Linked DNA regions of Homo sapiens: region 1 is linked to region 2. The links are contacts of gene promoters, found by promoter capture Hi-C in human tissues and cell types (Jung and others, 2019). All regions are on one chromosome and are shown on one strand. Each heading gives the region's core, a stretch centred on a gene start or on the middle of the fragment in contact. The rest is flanking DNA. Distances are from core to core; before and after follow the strand shown. Region 1 overlaps RCAN3AS (RCAN3 antisense RNA). Region 2 holds the start of GRHL3 (grainyhead like transcription factor 3).

What was found. Contacts are between HindIII fragments. The study calls those that stand out against the background at their distance.
Region 1: a fragment that was not itself captured here is called in contact with the fragment with the promoter of GRHL3 in region 2 in 1 of the 25 tissues and cell types used here (thymus).

The regions. Positions count from the first base shown.
Region 1 is chr1:24,490,816-24,497,785 of GRCh38, forward strand. It overlaps RCAN3AS (RCAN3 antisense RNA), which reads right to left. Exons shown (of 2, transcript NR_144360.1): 2 at 5,439-5,781. Among named protein-coding and RNA genes, the nearest start is that of RCAN3AS, 8.1 kb to the right of the region's middle. The HindIII fragment of the contact is 3,516 bases long and covers 2,937-6,452 here.
Region 2 is chr1:24,316,136-24,323,163 of GRCh38, forward strand. It overlaps GRHL3 (grainyhead like transcription factor 3), which reads left to right and starts at 3,222. Exons shown (of 16, transcript NM_198173.3): 1 at 3,222-3,433. The coding sequence starts at 3,417. It overlaps GRHL3-AS1 (GRHL3 antisense RNA 1), which reads right to left and starts at 5,856. Exons shown (of 2, transcript NR_183722.1): 1 at 5,531-5,856. RefSeq lists a silencer at 5,755-5,894 and enhancers at 5,962-6,479, 6,480-6,995. The HindIII fragment of the contact is 14,571 bases long and covers 1,724-7,028 here.

The DNA of each region.
Region 1 (6,970 bases), core at 3,445-5,944, 180 kb after region 2:
TGAAGCCAGTGAGTCCACGAACCCACCTGAAGGAATGAAGAACTCTGGACGTGCTGTTTTTATGAGCTGAAGCCTCATGGTGAAGGTCTGCAGCTTCACTCTTGAAGTCAGTGAGACCGTGAACCCACCAGAAGGAAAAAACTCCGGTCGTACCATCTTTAAGAACTGTAACACCACGAGGGTCTGCGGCTTCATTCCTGAAGTCATGTTGAAGTCAGCGAGACCAAGAACCCACCAATTCTGGACACACTAGGAATGGACATAGCTCTCTAAAGTTGCTACCACCATGATTCTTTCGAGTTTTACCTGTTCAGTTACTCTGGTAATAGCTTTATGTCTAAGTAACAAATTCTTTTTTCTTGTTTGAGAGGAGATCTCACTCTGTTGCCCAGGCTGCAGTGCAGTGGTACGATCACAGCTCATTGCAACCTTGAACTCCTGGGTGTACGGAATCTTCATACCTCAGCCTTCTGAATGGCCAGGACTACCCATACACGCCACCACACCTGGCTAATTAAAATTTTTTTTTCGCAGAGATGGGGTGTCTGTTGCCAAGGCTGGTCTCGAACTCCTGGCCTTGAGGGATAGTCTCTTGCCTGGGCCTCCCAAAATTCTAGGATTACAGGCACAAGCCACTGCTCCTGGCCAACAATTCTTTATATTAAATTCTTTCTGTTTAACTCACTAATGTGATTTCTGTCTCTTCACTAAACCCTGATGGACACTTGAGAAAACTCAGACTCATTTGAATCGGTGGGCTGCTCAAGCCGCTGCCCATTTTTAATGTTCCATTTTCTCCTTTGCTCTCTGCCTGCCCCTTCTTCCTTCTGATTATGGCCATCTAGCTCTTATTTTTCACCATCTGCAGCTGAAGTTAATCAGGAAATAATATCTCCTCCCCCCAAATTCCAGGATTGCAACGTTTAAAGAGCAGCTCCTTCCAGTGTGGACCCGTAAGTACTGATGCCCTCGAAGATAACGGATCTGTAGTTAATTCAGCAGCTTCCGAATCTTTGGGCAAATGGGATTGAGTCTTTCTAATTTAGAGCAACACTGCAAGATGAAATCTCACCCAGCATCCAGGCTTGCAAACATGCTGAAGACATATTTCCATGCCCGATCTTCAAAATTATGCAAGAGTGTCTTTTTTTTTTTTTAAGACATGTTTCTTTTTAATGAAAATGCAATAGTTACTGATTGCCAACCTTGTTATTGAAAGTTTATACTTTTCTAGGTGCTGTCACAAACGGTTCATTTGAGCCCCCAAACCATCTTAGAAGGGCAGTACCACTTATTTCCACTGAGCTGAAGAGAGCCAGGCTTAAAGAATGTGAGGTTTGCTCGATGTTAAACAGCCACTTGTAGTTAGTAGCGCGAGCAGGATGGGAGCCCGAGTGTTCTGAAGATGTGAAGACTTTCAAGGAAAATGCCTGCAGCTTTGGTGAGATTGTGGAAAGGGGGCAGAGTCGAGGCGGGGGCGGGGGCTGGGAGGAGGCAGGTAGAAATTGATACAACCTTTCTGAAAAGTATTTGGAAATATGTGTACCAACATTCCCTTCCAGATAATAAAACCATTTCTATTAACAGCTAGATCAATGCAACAGAATAAATCATCCGGAAATACATATGTAGTATGTTCTTATATATTCAATCTTCAATTTTCTTTTTTTAAATTTTTTATTGAGATAGGGTCTCACTCTGTCACCCAGGCTGGAGCTCAGTGGCTCACTGCAAGCTTCACCTCCCCAGTGATCCTCCCACCTCAGCCTCCTAAGAGCTGGGACCACAGGCACATGCTACCATGCCTGACTAGTTTGTGTGTGTGTGTGTGTGTGTGTGTGTGTGTGTGTGTCTTTAGTAGACATGGGGTTTCAGCAAGTTACCCAAGCTGGTCTCAAACTCCTGGACTCAAGCAATCTGCCTGCCTCAGCCTCCCAAAGTGCTGGGATTACAGGTGGGAGCCACCACGCCCTGCCCAGGTCCCTAATTTTTGATAGTTCAACTTACAATTTTTCCATTTTGCAATGGTGTGAAAACATAACGCATTCAGTAGAAACTGTACTTTGAGTACCCACACAACTATTCTGCCTTCACTTTCAGTACCATCACCAATAAGTTACATGAGCTATCCAACACTTCATAAAATAGACTTTGTGTTAGATGATTTTGCCCAACTGTAGGCTAACGTAAGTGCTCTGAGCATGCTTCGGGTAGGCTATGATGTTTACTAGGTTACGTATATGGTATTAAATACATTTATGGGCTGGGCAAGGTGGCTCACACCTGCAATCCCAGCACTTTAGGAGGCCGAGGCGGGTGAATCACTTGAGGTCAGAAGTTCAAGGCCAGCGTGGCCAACATGGTGAAACCTCGTCTCTACTAAAAATACAAAAATTAGCCTGGTGTGGTGGTATGTGCCTGTAGTCCCAGCTACTCGGGAGGCTGAGACAGGAGAGTCACTTAACCCAGGAGGCAGAGGTTGCACTAAGCCGAGGTCACACCCCTGCACTCCAGCCTGGGTAAAAGAGCGAGACTGCATCTCTAAATAAATAAATACACTTATGACTTAACGATATTTTCAACTTACAATGGATTTATCAGAACATAACCCATCATAAGTCAAGGAGCATCTATAGTAAATTGTATATATATGAAGCAGTGGGTTCTTTAATTATTAATGTTAGAACCACTGGAAATAGTATTTAAGTTTGAGGCTTACCTTGACTTACATGGTGTTACATCTTGATAAACCCTGTCTCCAAAAAAAGAAAGGTCATGATTAATCAGACTTCAGCAAGCTAAGAGATCATAAAGTACAAGATGAATACACTGTATACAAATAATTGTTTTCTGAGGATCTCACCCTGTCACCCAGGCTGGAGTGCAGCAGTGTGATCACAGCTCACTGCAGCTTCAACCTTCCTGGGCTCAAGTGATCCTCCTACCTCAGCCTCTTGAGTAGCTGGGACCACAGGTGCCTGCCACTATGCCCAGGCTAATTTTTTTTTTTTTGGTAAAGATTGAGGGGTTGCCATGTTGCCCAGGGTGGTCTTGAACCCCTGGGCTCAAGTGATTCTCCCTCCTGGACCTCCCAAAGTGGTAGGATTATATGGGTTTTTTGTTTGTTTTGAGACAAGGTCTCAAAACACTGTCACCCAGGCTGGAGTACAGTGGTGCAATCATGGCTCACTGCAGCCTTGACCTCCTGGGCTCAAGCGATGCTCCCACCTCAGCCTCCTGAGTAGCTGGGAGCAAAGGTGTGTGCCATCACACCCAGCCAATTTTTTTATTTTTTGTAGCGACAAGATTTCACTGTGTTTACCCAGGCTGATCTCCAACTCCTGGACCCAAGCAGTCCTCTTGCCTCGGCCTCCCAAATTGTTGGGATTACAGGCATGAGCCACCACGCCTGGCCAAATAAAATTTTTAAAACATCTTTATATCAAAAAGAATTTTCGAAAGGGAAATTATGAAGAGAAAATTTTCAACAAATGTAATCACAGGGTTACTATCCACAGTGTATAAGATGTTTTTATAAACAAACGATGCTAATAGCTCAGTGGAAGAATGCACAGAGAACTTGGGCAGATCTCAAATGAAGCATTTGTGAAAAATCAAGATGTCATGTTTGGGGAGGTTTTTGTTTTTGTTTTTTGCCTATCAATCAGGAAAGGCATTTATAATTAAATAGAGTAACAACCTTTTTGAAATGCATTTTGTCATTTTCCAGTAAGAGTTTTTTTAAATGTTCATGCCCCTTGCCTAGTAACTGCTTCTGGGAATCTATGCTGAGGAAATAATCATAAATGCAACAGCATATTTTACATATAAAGGTATTCATCGTATGGTTAATTATGTAAGAGAAAATTGGAATGAAACTTTGATTACAACAATAAGGAAATAATTAGATAAATAACACAATGCAATATTATGTAGTCATTAAAAATTAAATAGTATTTTAAAGCACAAGATAATGTTTGCAATATGTTAAGTGAAATAGGTAAGAGATCCAAATTGGCTGATTCTAATGGTATACTAATCTTACCCAAAAAATTGGAGAGAAACACTGTATACTAAAATATTGAATAGTGACTCTGAACTCCAAAAATCTAAGACAGTTCTCAGTTAATTTAGAAAGCTTATTTTGCCAAGGTTGGGCCGGGCGTGGTGGCTCACATCTGTAATTCCAGCACTTTGGGAGGCTGAGGCAGGCAGATCACGAGGTCAGGAGATCGAGACCACCCTGGCTAACACGGTGAAACCCCGTCTCTACTAAAAATACAAAAAAATTAGCCGGGCGTGGTGGCGGGCACCTATATTTCCAGCTACTCGGGAGGCTGAGGCAGGAGAATAGCTTGAACCCAGGAGGCGGAGCTTGCAGTGAGCCGAGATTGCGCCACTGCACTCCAGCCTGGGCGACAGGGTGAGACTCCATCTCAAAAAAAAAAAAAAGTATTTTGCCAAGGTTGAAGACACATGCCCATGACACAGCCTCAGGAGGTCCTGACAACGTGTGCCCAAGGTGGGTCAGAGCACACTTTGGTTTTATACATTTTAGGGAGTCATGAGACATCAACCAACATATGTAAGATGAACACTGATTGGTCCGGAAAGGCAGGACAACTTGAAGCGGGGAAGGGGCTTCCAGGTCATAGGTAGGTAAGAGACAAATGGCTGCATTCCTTTGAGTTTCTGATTAGCCTCTCCAAAGGATGCAATCAGATATACATCTATCTGTGAGCAGAAGGGTGACTTTGAATAGAATGGGAAGCAGGTTTGCCCTGAGCAGTTCCCAGCTTGATTTTTCCCTTTGGCTTAGTGATTTGGGGGACCCAAGATATTTTCCTTGCACATGACTATCTCTGGATCCTGGGATTGTACGTGATTTGAATTTTTTAATTTATCTTTTTGTTTTCAAATGTTCTATAAAAGCCAAGTCCAATTTTTATGAGAAAATTTTAAATATCAAAAATCGACATGACTCATCTCCCAACCAATGTTGGATGTGGGGCTGATAAGTTTCACTCCTCCAGCAAACTATTGGATCGTGTTGCAACTCTCTTCTTGGGGGAATGGCTGACTTGCCAGGAATGGGAGACAAATGAGGGTGTTACCAGGGAGGCAGGTTAATTTAAGGCTCTTCAGGAAAAGGTACCATCTGTGATGCAAATCCCATAGGAGATCTAGAGTGTGGTAGAACATGAATTAAAATATCCAGCACACCCAGATGCATATTAATGAGTCTGAGATAGAGATCGATCGATATGCAGTGATTTCTCTCCTCATCAGAAGCAGCTCCGTTTCCTCTCAACCTTTCACTCTGCTACATTTATTGTGCACTTACCACCTACCAGAACCAGATGTTGTTACAGGAGCTGGGAATACATCCATGAACAGACTAATCCCTGCCCCCATGGAACTGATATTCTACTTGGGACTTAGGCATTAAACCAGTAATTGCATAATTATTTTATTAATTACAATTGTGATAGATGCTTTGTAGAAGTACTACAGGGAGCCATGGAATCATTTACAGTGAATATCAGTTGGGATTGTGTTTGGCTGCAACAGACACCTAACAAGATCCAAGAATATTTCTTTACCATATGAAGGCAGTATAGATGGAGGAACCCAGGGCTGGTATGGCAGTTCTGGTGTCACAGGGGATACAGGCTCCTCATCTTTTGGATTCACCATCCCAACATGTGGCTTCCATCTTCAAGGCTACCTCCTGGTCCAGAATGGCTGCCGGAGCTCCAGCCATCGTGTTCACATTGCAGGCTAGAAGAAAGAACAGCAAAAGGTTGGGCTGGGCGTGGTGGCTCACGCCTGTAATCCTAGCACTTTGGGAGCCTGAGATGGGCAGATCACAAGGTCAGGAGTTCGAGACCAGCCTGGCCAACATGGTGAAACCCTGTCTCTACTAAAAATACAAAAATTAGCCAGACATGGTGGCACATGCCTATAATCCTAGCTACTCAAGAGGCTGAGACAGGAAAATTGCTTGAACCCAGGAGGCAGAGGTTGCAGTGAGCCTAGATTGTGCCACTGCACTCCAGCCTGGGCAACAGAGTGAGACTCCATCTCAAAAAAAAACAAAAAACAAAAAAAAAAAAACAAAAGGGTACCTCTGCCAGCCAAGTCAGCCTCCCTCTGCTTATATCTCACTGGGCAAAAGTAAAATTTTCCTTGTAAACTGATTATAAACCAGCTCATGTTTCCCGAGCATCTGCAATGTGTCTGGCACTTTACAAAACAACTTTGCAAGGCGGTATCATCAATTCTATTTAACTTTGGGAGGCTGAGGTTGGAGGGTCGCTTGAGCCCAGGAGTTTGAGACCATCCTGGGCAACAAAAGCGAGACCTTGCTTGTAAATTATAAAAATAATTTAAAAAATCCACTTAACAGATGAGAAAAGTAAGGCTTCACAGGTTTAAAGAACTTGCCCAAAAATCACACAGCCAGTCAGTGGTAGCGCTGACTTCCTGGAGCCCATACTCTTTCCATTGTACTTTTCTGCCTTCCCATCAGCAACTGAAAACGAAGCAAGAAAGCTCCTCAGATTTGTCATAGACTATATTTAAAGAAAGGCCACATTTTTCTTATTTAAAATGCATTAAACAATGCAACCAATTAAAAGAACTGAGATGGATTTGTACAAAAGCAGGGACTAGGTCTGTTTTGTTCACTGCTATATTCCCAATGCCTAGAACCATGTCTGGCAAACATACTGGCATGGGAAGAACATTTCCATAACCCCTGAATGTTCTGTGCCCCTTTCCAATTAATCCCTACCCTCAGAAGCAACCACTATTCTCATGCTTATTACATTAGTTTTGCCTCTTCTTGACTTTCATATAAATGAAATCATACATCTATGCGTTTTGACTTCTTTTGCTCAACAATTGCTTTTGAGATTTATCCGTTGTTATGTGTATCAACATTTCATGATTTTTTTTTATTGCTGTG
Region 2 (7,028 bases), core at 1,972-4,471:
TTCACCGTGTTGGCCAGGCTGGTCTCGAACTCCTGATCTCAAGTGATCTGCCTGCCTTGGCCTCCCAAAGTGCTGGTATTATTGGCATGAGCCACCGCACCCAGCTAACTTTTGACTTCCAACAAATCATTTAACCTCCGAGTCTGTTTCTTCACTTGTGAAATAAGGTTAATATCTTCCTCATTAGATTTAAATGAGAATTAAGGGGGGAAAAAAAGGCTTTTCTAACAAGTATTGAGTGCTAGATGCCAGGTACAGATAATGCACTTCACACGCATTATCTTTTAATCCTCACAATAACCCCATAAGGGAGGAATACAATTTTTATATACACTTTACAGGTGAGGAAACTGAGGCTCAAAGAGCTGTAGCCACTTGCCCGACATCATGTAGCTAGTTGGGCTGAGATTTGAAAGGAGGCCTGTGAGTCTCAGAACAATACTATCCTAACACATAGGTAAGTCTTAGCACAGTGCTTGCAAAATACAAACGCTAACTAAACAGCAGCCCTCATTATTTACTGTCATTATTGTGGATATAATTATTATGTTACAAGTAATTGGCTGGTCTCTGTTTATGTTTTTTTAAACTTTGTTTTTTTTTTTTTTTTTTGGAATAGCTGTTCTGTTTTAAATCTCCTCTGCAGAGGAACCAAGAGCTGTGCTGATCCATGAAGGGGAAGTAGGTGCCAGCCTTGCTCAGCCCCACAGGAGCAGGAAGGGGGCAGCAGCAAAGCACGGGGAGTGTCTCTTTAAAGGCCTGGCATCTCTGGGTTGTTGGGATGAAGGCCTAGAAAGCACTTGTACCTCCTGCCTGGGAGGTATAATTCCTACTGAGGGGCCTGGTGACCTTGCAAACTGGCTCATGGCGTTCCTGCCTACCTAGCCCAGACCACCGGTCCTTCTATCCCATCCGGGACACTTCTGTAGCCTTCCTGTGTGTGGAGACGTAGAAACCCTCTGCCCTGTGATTTGGGTCTCTGCTGATCTCTGAAGATGGGTGCGGGTGATGAAAGAGGCAAAACCTAGAGGCAGAGGGAGAGGACCCATTTTTAAAACCCCAGCGAGCACAGACACGCCACCTGGAATCCCAGCCTCCCCTGAGCCCAGTCAGCATGAGTCACCCCACAGCCCTTCACCTGTGGGTTGCAACACGGTTGACAGAAACTCCACAGCCTTCCATGAGGTGGGCAGACAGGTACATACAGAGGAGTGTGCCATCCTTTGGACTGCAATAAGCTTTGCAGTTACAGTTGGCACCAAATAGCCCTTCAGCCACCAATAAGCTCTGTGAAGTGGTTGGGCACCCAGGCTCTGCTCTCGGATTAAATCCCAGCTCTAGCTCTACCACTGCCTAGCTCTGCAGCTTGAGTAGTTTACTTCAGTATTCTGTACCTCAGTTTCCTCATCTATAAAATGGGGGTATCAAAAATGTCTATCTCCCAGGGTTGCTGTAAGGATTAGGCGACACAATGTATGCAAAGGCGCACAATGCCCGGTGCCTGTGGTATATGAAGCACCTACTAGGTGCCAGACACTGGAGATTCCACAGTGAGCGACACAAAGTCTTTGCTCTTATGGAATTTACATTCCAGAGGAAGGGGAGAAAGACAATAAACGATTAGAAAAATATCATAGGTCATATTACATTGTATCATAAGTCATAAGGGCTCTGCAGAGAACAAAAAGTAGTGTGATCCAGAGTGATTGAATGTCTACTTTATTAACAAGGGTGACTGAAGAGGGCTGCTCTGAGGAGGTGGCTTTATTAGCAATTATTTACTATTATTTATTAGGGTCCCCTGGGCTTCCCCCAACACAGCCTCCAGGGAGAAACCAATCTCTGAGAGTTCTCAAACCCAGTACCCCCTCTCCAGAGCCCTGACCCCACCCCAAGAGGGCTCCTTTGAATTCTGACTTTACCCTGAAAAACCTCCATAAATTGGCAGGGGTAGCTGAAACCTCACTTGCCGTTCCCAGAGAAGAGAGAGAGGAGTGGGCCAAGTTGAGGTTTCCAGGAAGACACAGCAAAGAGATAATTTGCCAAAAGGGGAAGGGTGGGGGAGGGGAGAATAGAAAGAGAGAGAGGGAAAAAAAGATGCCAAGATCTCTGGCTTAGATTTAATTTCAAACTAATCCTGGAAGAAGCTCTTTAAAAAGCTCTTACATTCTCCTGTTTGTGTTTGTGGATATTCTGGGGTTTACCAAGCTTGTTCTTTATAGTAGACAGCTCACAGCAATTACTCCACAATTACTTCATCTGACAGGCATTGAATTTCTCCCAAGTTCCCAATACAGAACGAAGCACTTGGAGCCTGTGAAATGACCAGCTGGCTGAGGCTTCAGAGGAGCCTTCAACTTTTCTATCCCTTCTGTGCTGACCAGAGGTATGTGGCTTGCCCACACCCCCTTCACACCCAATAAAAGCCTGTTCTCCTTTACTCCCCCACCCCCTGCCACCAACACACACCCCCCAGATTGTAAACTCCTTTAGAACAGTAACCCCTGTTTTTTCTGGCCTCAGTTTCTCCAGAACCCAGAGTAGGGTCTGGCACACAACGGGTGCTCAATGAATGTCTACTGAATTGAGGCCACTGACTTCAGCCCAAGGGGCAGCCAGACTTGGAGTGAGATGACTGCAGATTGGATCTGGGCTGGGACCTCGCTAGCTGTGCCCTTGGGCAAGGCACTTTGCCTCTCTGGCCTCCATTTCCTCCCTCATCTGTAAAATATGTGTTGAAGAGGAAGGGGGAAGCGATAATAAATCTACCACGGTAGGTTACTTTAAGAACCAAAAGAAGTCACTTGAGTAACTGCAAAAGATTATTCAAAAATATTACCTTAAAGGGGAAACTGAAAAAAAGGGAACTTATACAAAGATCTACCTGGGAAAAGTTGCTCTCTCCTTTGAGAATTCCCCAGTGGTACAGAAGGAGGGGGCAAAGAAATTTGGGGGTGGGGATGTTTCTGGGTATCTGGGACAATGACTAGAAACAGGAATCAAGTTTTCCTTTAAGCCAAGTTATCTGTTTGTCCCTGTACTTTTCCTCTAGTTATCTTGCTTCTTTCCAACATTTTCTTCTCCATCCCTCCTCCCTCATCTCCACCCCCCACCCCCTCACCAAGGAAGGAATTGGCCAGCTCCACCCAGCCAGTCCCCCATAGCTCCGCCCTCCTCGGCGGGCTAAGAGTTAACAGCTGCACCTGTTGAGGTATACCTCCAGTCGCCGGCACCTGTACCTGTAGCCAATCAGCGCCAGCGCTGCTGGGAACCTACCTGTCAGCAAAATCTCGACACCCAAACCTCAACATAAATCAAACACTTTCCCGGGCAGAGAATGTCTGTGTCAGGCAAGAATTAGAGACAAGCGGTCAGCAGAGCCTCAGTGCTGATCGTCGGAGCTTGGGAGCAGGAAGATGTCGAATGAACTTGAGTGAGTAAACATCGGTGGATACCTGCCGCTCTCAGAGCGTGGAGGCTGGATGGGGTTTCCTGGAGGGGGAAGAGCGGGGAGGCCGGCACCGGGATTCACAGAGCAATTTGTAAGGGTAAATGAATGGGCTGACGATCTTACTTTGGCGTGTCAAGGCAAGCCCCAGTCTCAAGCTAGAGGTGAGTGTTTCCCTGGGAAAATAGTTTTTCTCATTCTCTTTGCTGAGCAGTTTCGAGCCAGGCAGGGAAACACAAGACTGAAACTGTGAAGGTTTCTGGCACCACTTTTTGATCCTCTGAAGGGGCCTTGGAAATCAGACGACCCCAATCCCATCGAGGCTTTCTATCTTCTTGCCAAAAGGAACTTCTTTAAGGTAGTTCTAAGAGCTGTCTTAGGCAGAGAGTTGGGTTTCTCTAAAGGGACTTGTTTGCTGGGTTGGAACAGTCCCAAGTGGGAAGGTTACAGTGTGGTGGTTAAGCATGTGTACTCTTTGTAGTGGGCTTGACCTAAGTTCAAATCCAGGCTCTGTCCCTGGGTGATCTCAGACAAGACATTCAATTTTTCTGGGCTTCATTTTCCTCATCTGGAAAATGGGTACAAGAATGCTTTGTAGAATTCTGGAAAGAGTTAAGTGTGATAAATGCTGTAAAATGCTTAGCATAAAGCTATGGTCTGAAGATGCGTTCAGTAAAATGTGGTTCCTCTCATTCAGAGGCAGTTCTAAGGCTGGGGAAGATGAGAAGTGATTTTTGGTAGGTCACCTCTTTTGGCTGGGAGGATGCATGTGCCTTCCTGCCCACATCTGAGATTTAAGATCCTGACTGACTGATGCTGATCTTCACCATGATGTCCTTCTTGGGGTCCAGACCTTAGAGAAGGTAGGGTGAGGCTGGGATCTGGGCTGCTTTAGATTGGGTTCAGGGAGCTGGCAGGAGAAGCCAGAATCCTTTAAACACAGGCTCTCCTTTTCCTGCCACCCTCAGAGGTGAGTGGGCAGAGGCAAGGATTGTACCATCTTTTTTCTAACTGCTCCTCAACAGACTTTTAAGAACTTGAAGATCTGTGGGCAGACAGCAGTGCTAGGTCCTGACTGCAGACCGGATTCTATGTTCTAGCTAGCCCTTCAGCTCTTCATGTTCACAGCACAATCACTTGGGTTAACAGGCACATTTCTTTTGAATGAATTTCCCGGGGTTGACAATGTATTGACAATTGGACCGCAATGAGAATAAGAGCAGGAGCATTGGTACTGACACCTGGGTTCAAGTCCCAGCTCTAGCACTTATAGCTGTGTGATGTTGAGCAAGTCCCTTAATCCTCATCTGTAAATAGTGGCCAACAGTAGTATCCACCTCATGGGGTTGTTAGAGGATTTGACAATTTTAGAATAGTGATTGCTTTTAAGGCTGGTGGAGAACACACCAGTAACACCATTGTCATTTCATGTAGAACTAACCAATCAATGAGCATTCCCAAACCTCTTGCTATTTTTCCATACTTTGAACGCGCAAAAAAATCTTGACATGTGTCTCCATCCCACTTAAATTTGCTGGCTAAAACTGCGGAGGCTACAGACAGAATCTATTCATTACTGCACGTTAGGGGGTATGTGTTCTGAAGCTGGGTTACTTGAACAGAAAGGTTTCTTGCTTTTCTCCTCCCTAATGGTTTGGATTTGAAGTCAGATCCGCTGACAGTTGAGGCTTCTCAGTTTGGGGTGGGGTGAGGGAAGCCAGTTGCCTGCTGAGTAATTGCAGGCGGACTCCAAGCCACCATTTGAGATTACAGTGGCAGAGCCTGGGGGCTCAGCTGCCCCTACTGGTAAGGGGAGGGCACCCGGCGCTTGGCTTGCAAGTTCTGAGCTGCTGTTGCTTCTGCGGCCTCGACATTCTCCTAAAAAGTGCCAAGTTAAGAGGACTGGCCATAGCTTACAGCTTGGGCCCTCATGGAATGGCCAACTCTGGCCAGGCCTTGATATAGTGGCAAAAGTGGGACTTGCCTGTCACTCTAAATTCTGCCACTTACCAACAGCAGGATCCTGGTGAATTTGTTTGTCCTCCCTGACCCTCAGTCTGCTCATCTGTCTGTAACACCTACCTGGCAGGAACAACTGTGAGCTCCCAAATGTGGACCAGAGCTCCATCCGCGCCCGCCCGGTGGCCAGGCCCCGGGTGTAAGGCGGCACTTCGAAGGCTGGTCTCTGAGAAGCATGGAGGCCCCGGCGGTGTAGTTAGAAACCAGCTGGAGGTGGCTGGCGGGTGCTGAGCGCCGGGCCTTTCATGTGGTCGCAGCGCTCTGGGTGCCTGGAGCCCGCAGCCCTGGGCAGCCCCGGGCTACCGCAGGGCGCAAGGGATCCTGGGCTGCGGCCGAGGGCGCCGGAAGTCGCCGCCGACCGCCTGGGTCTCGCAGGAAAACAGCCGGCGCCCGCGAGCTGCCCAGCGTCGGGTTTTCCTGAAGGTGCGTCGGGGCCCCCGGGGAGCTGGAGCCGCAGGCGACCTCCCCGGTGACCTGTTGTTCCCCTCTGGAGGGCCGGCCGGCGCTCCAGGCAGGCCCCGTTGACAGCCCAGGAAGGGAGAGTTTCGCCGCAAAGGGGCTTGGCACACAGTAGGTCTAAGGCACCGAGGCAGGAGCGTCCCCCGCGGCCTCGCTCCCTGCTCTCTGGGCCCCACCGCTGCCGCCTGGAGTCTCCCCTCAGCCTCGCAGAGACGCGACTCGGTTGGGGGAAGGGGACTAGAACCGTCGCAGTCCTGACCGCGGCCGCCGCCGCCGTTCTATCTGATCTCCAGGAGCGCCGGCTCCAGACTGCCTGGAGCGCTGAAAGAGTTAATCAGGAACGCCTCCCCGCTGTGGTTTTGTGGTCGAAACCATGATTGCCAGGAGCAAATTTTTGTCGTGCACGAGGTGTGTTATTAAAAGTCGGAGCTACGCTGCTGCTGAATGAAAAGTTAAAAGCCCTCTTTGAGTTCGGGCTGTAAAACTGGCGGACTGGGCCGAGAGGCTTGAGCCAACCCTAACGGCGGCGGCCCGGGCGGCGCGGGGGTCCTGCGGCTCCGCCAGCTGCTGGGAGCGGGCAGGCTGCGCAGTCCCAGCAGTGAGTGGCCGCAGCCAGGCGGTCGGCAGAGCTCCCACTGACCCACCGGAGGAGTGAAGAGGGAAAACGGGGCTGAAACCCAGATGGGATCATCCAGCTTTCTCTTACGTTAGAACAAAAATGACAGCCAACATTTATGGAGCGCTGACTCCGCATCTGACATTGTGTCGAGTGCTTGATAAATACACGCTCTTCTTTAAACCCTCCCAACAAACTAATGCGGGATGGGAGTGTAAATGCAGTTTTGCCGAAGAGGGGACCCAGACCTGGTTCAGGCTTGCCCAAGGTCTCACGGAAGCACTGGGATCTTAACCGGGTCTTAGCCGAGCAGCCATAGGCCACCCCGCTTCCTCTGTGCTTAGCCTCTGAAAAGAAGACAGAGGAGATGTGCCAAACTGTTAAGAGTGGTTATTTCTGAGCAGAAGAATGTGGATGAATTCCATTCTTCCTATTTTTCTGTAGGTTCTACATGTTATATATTTGTTGTATTTTACAAACCTATGT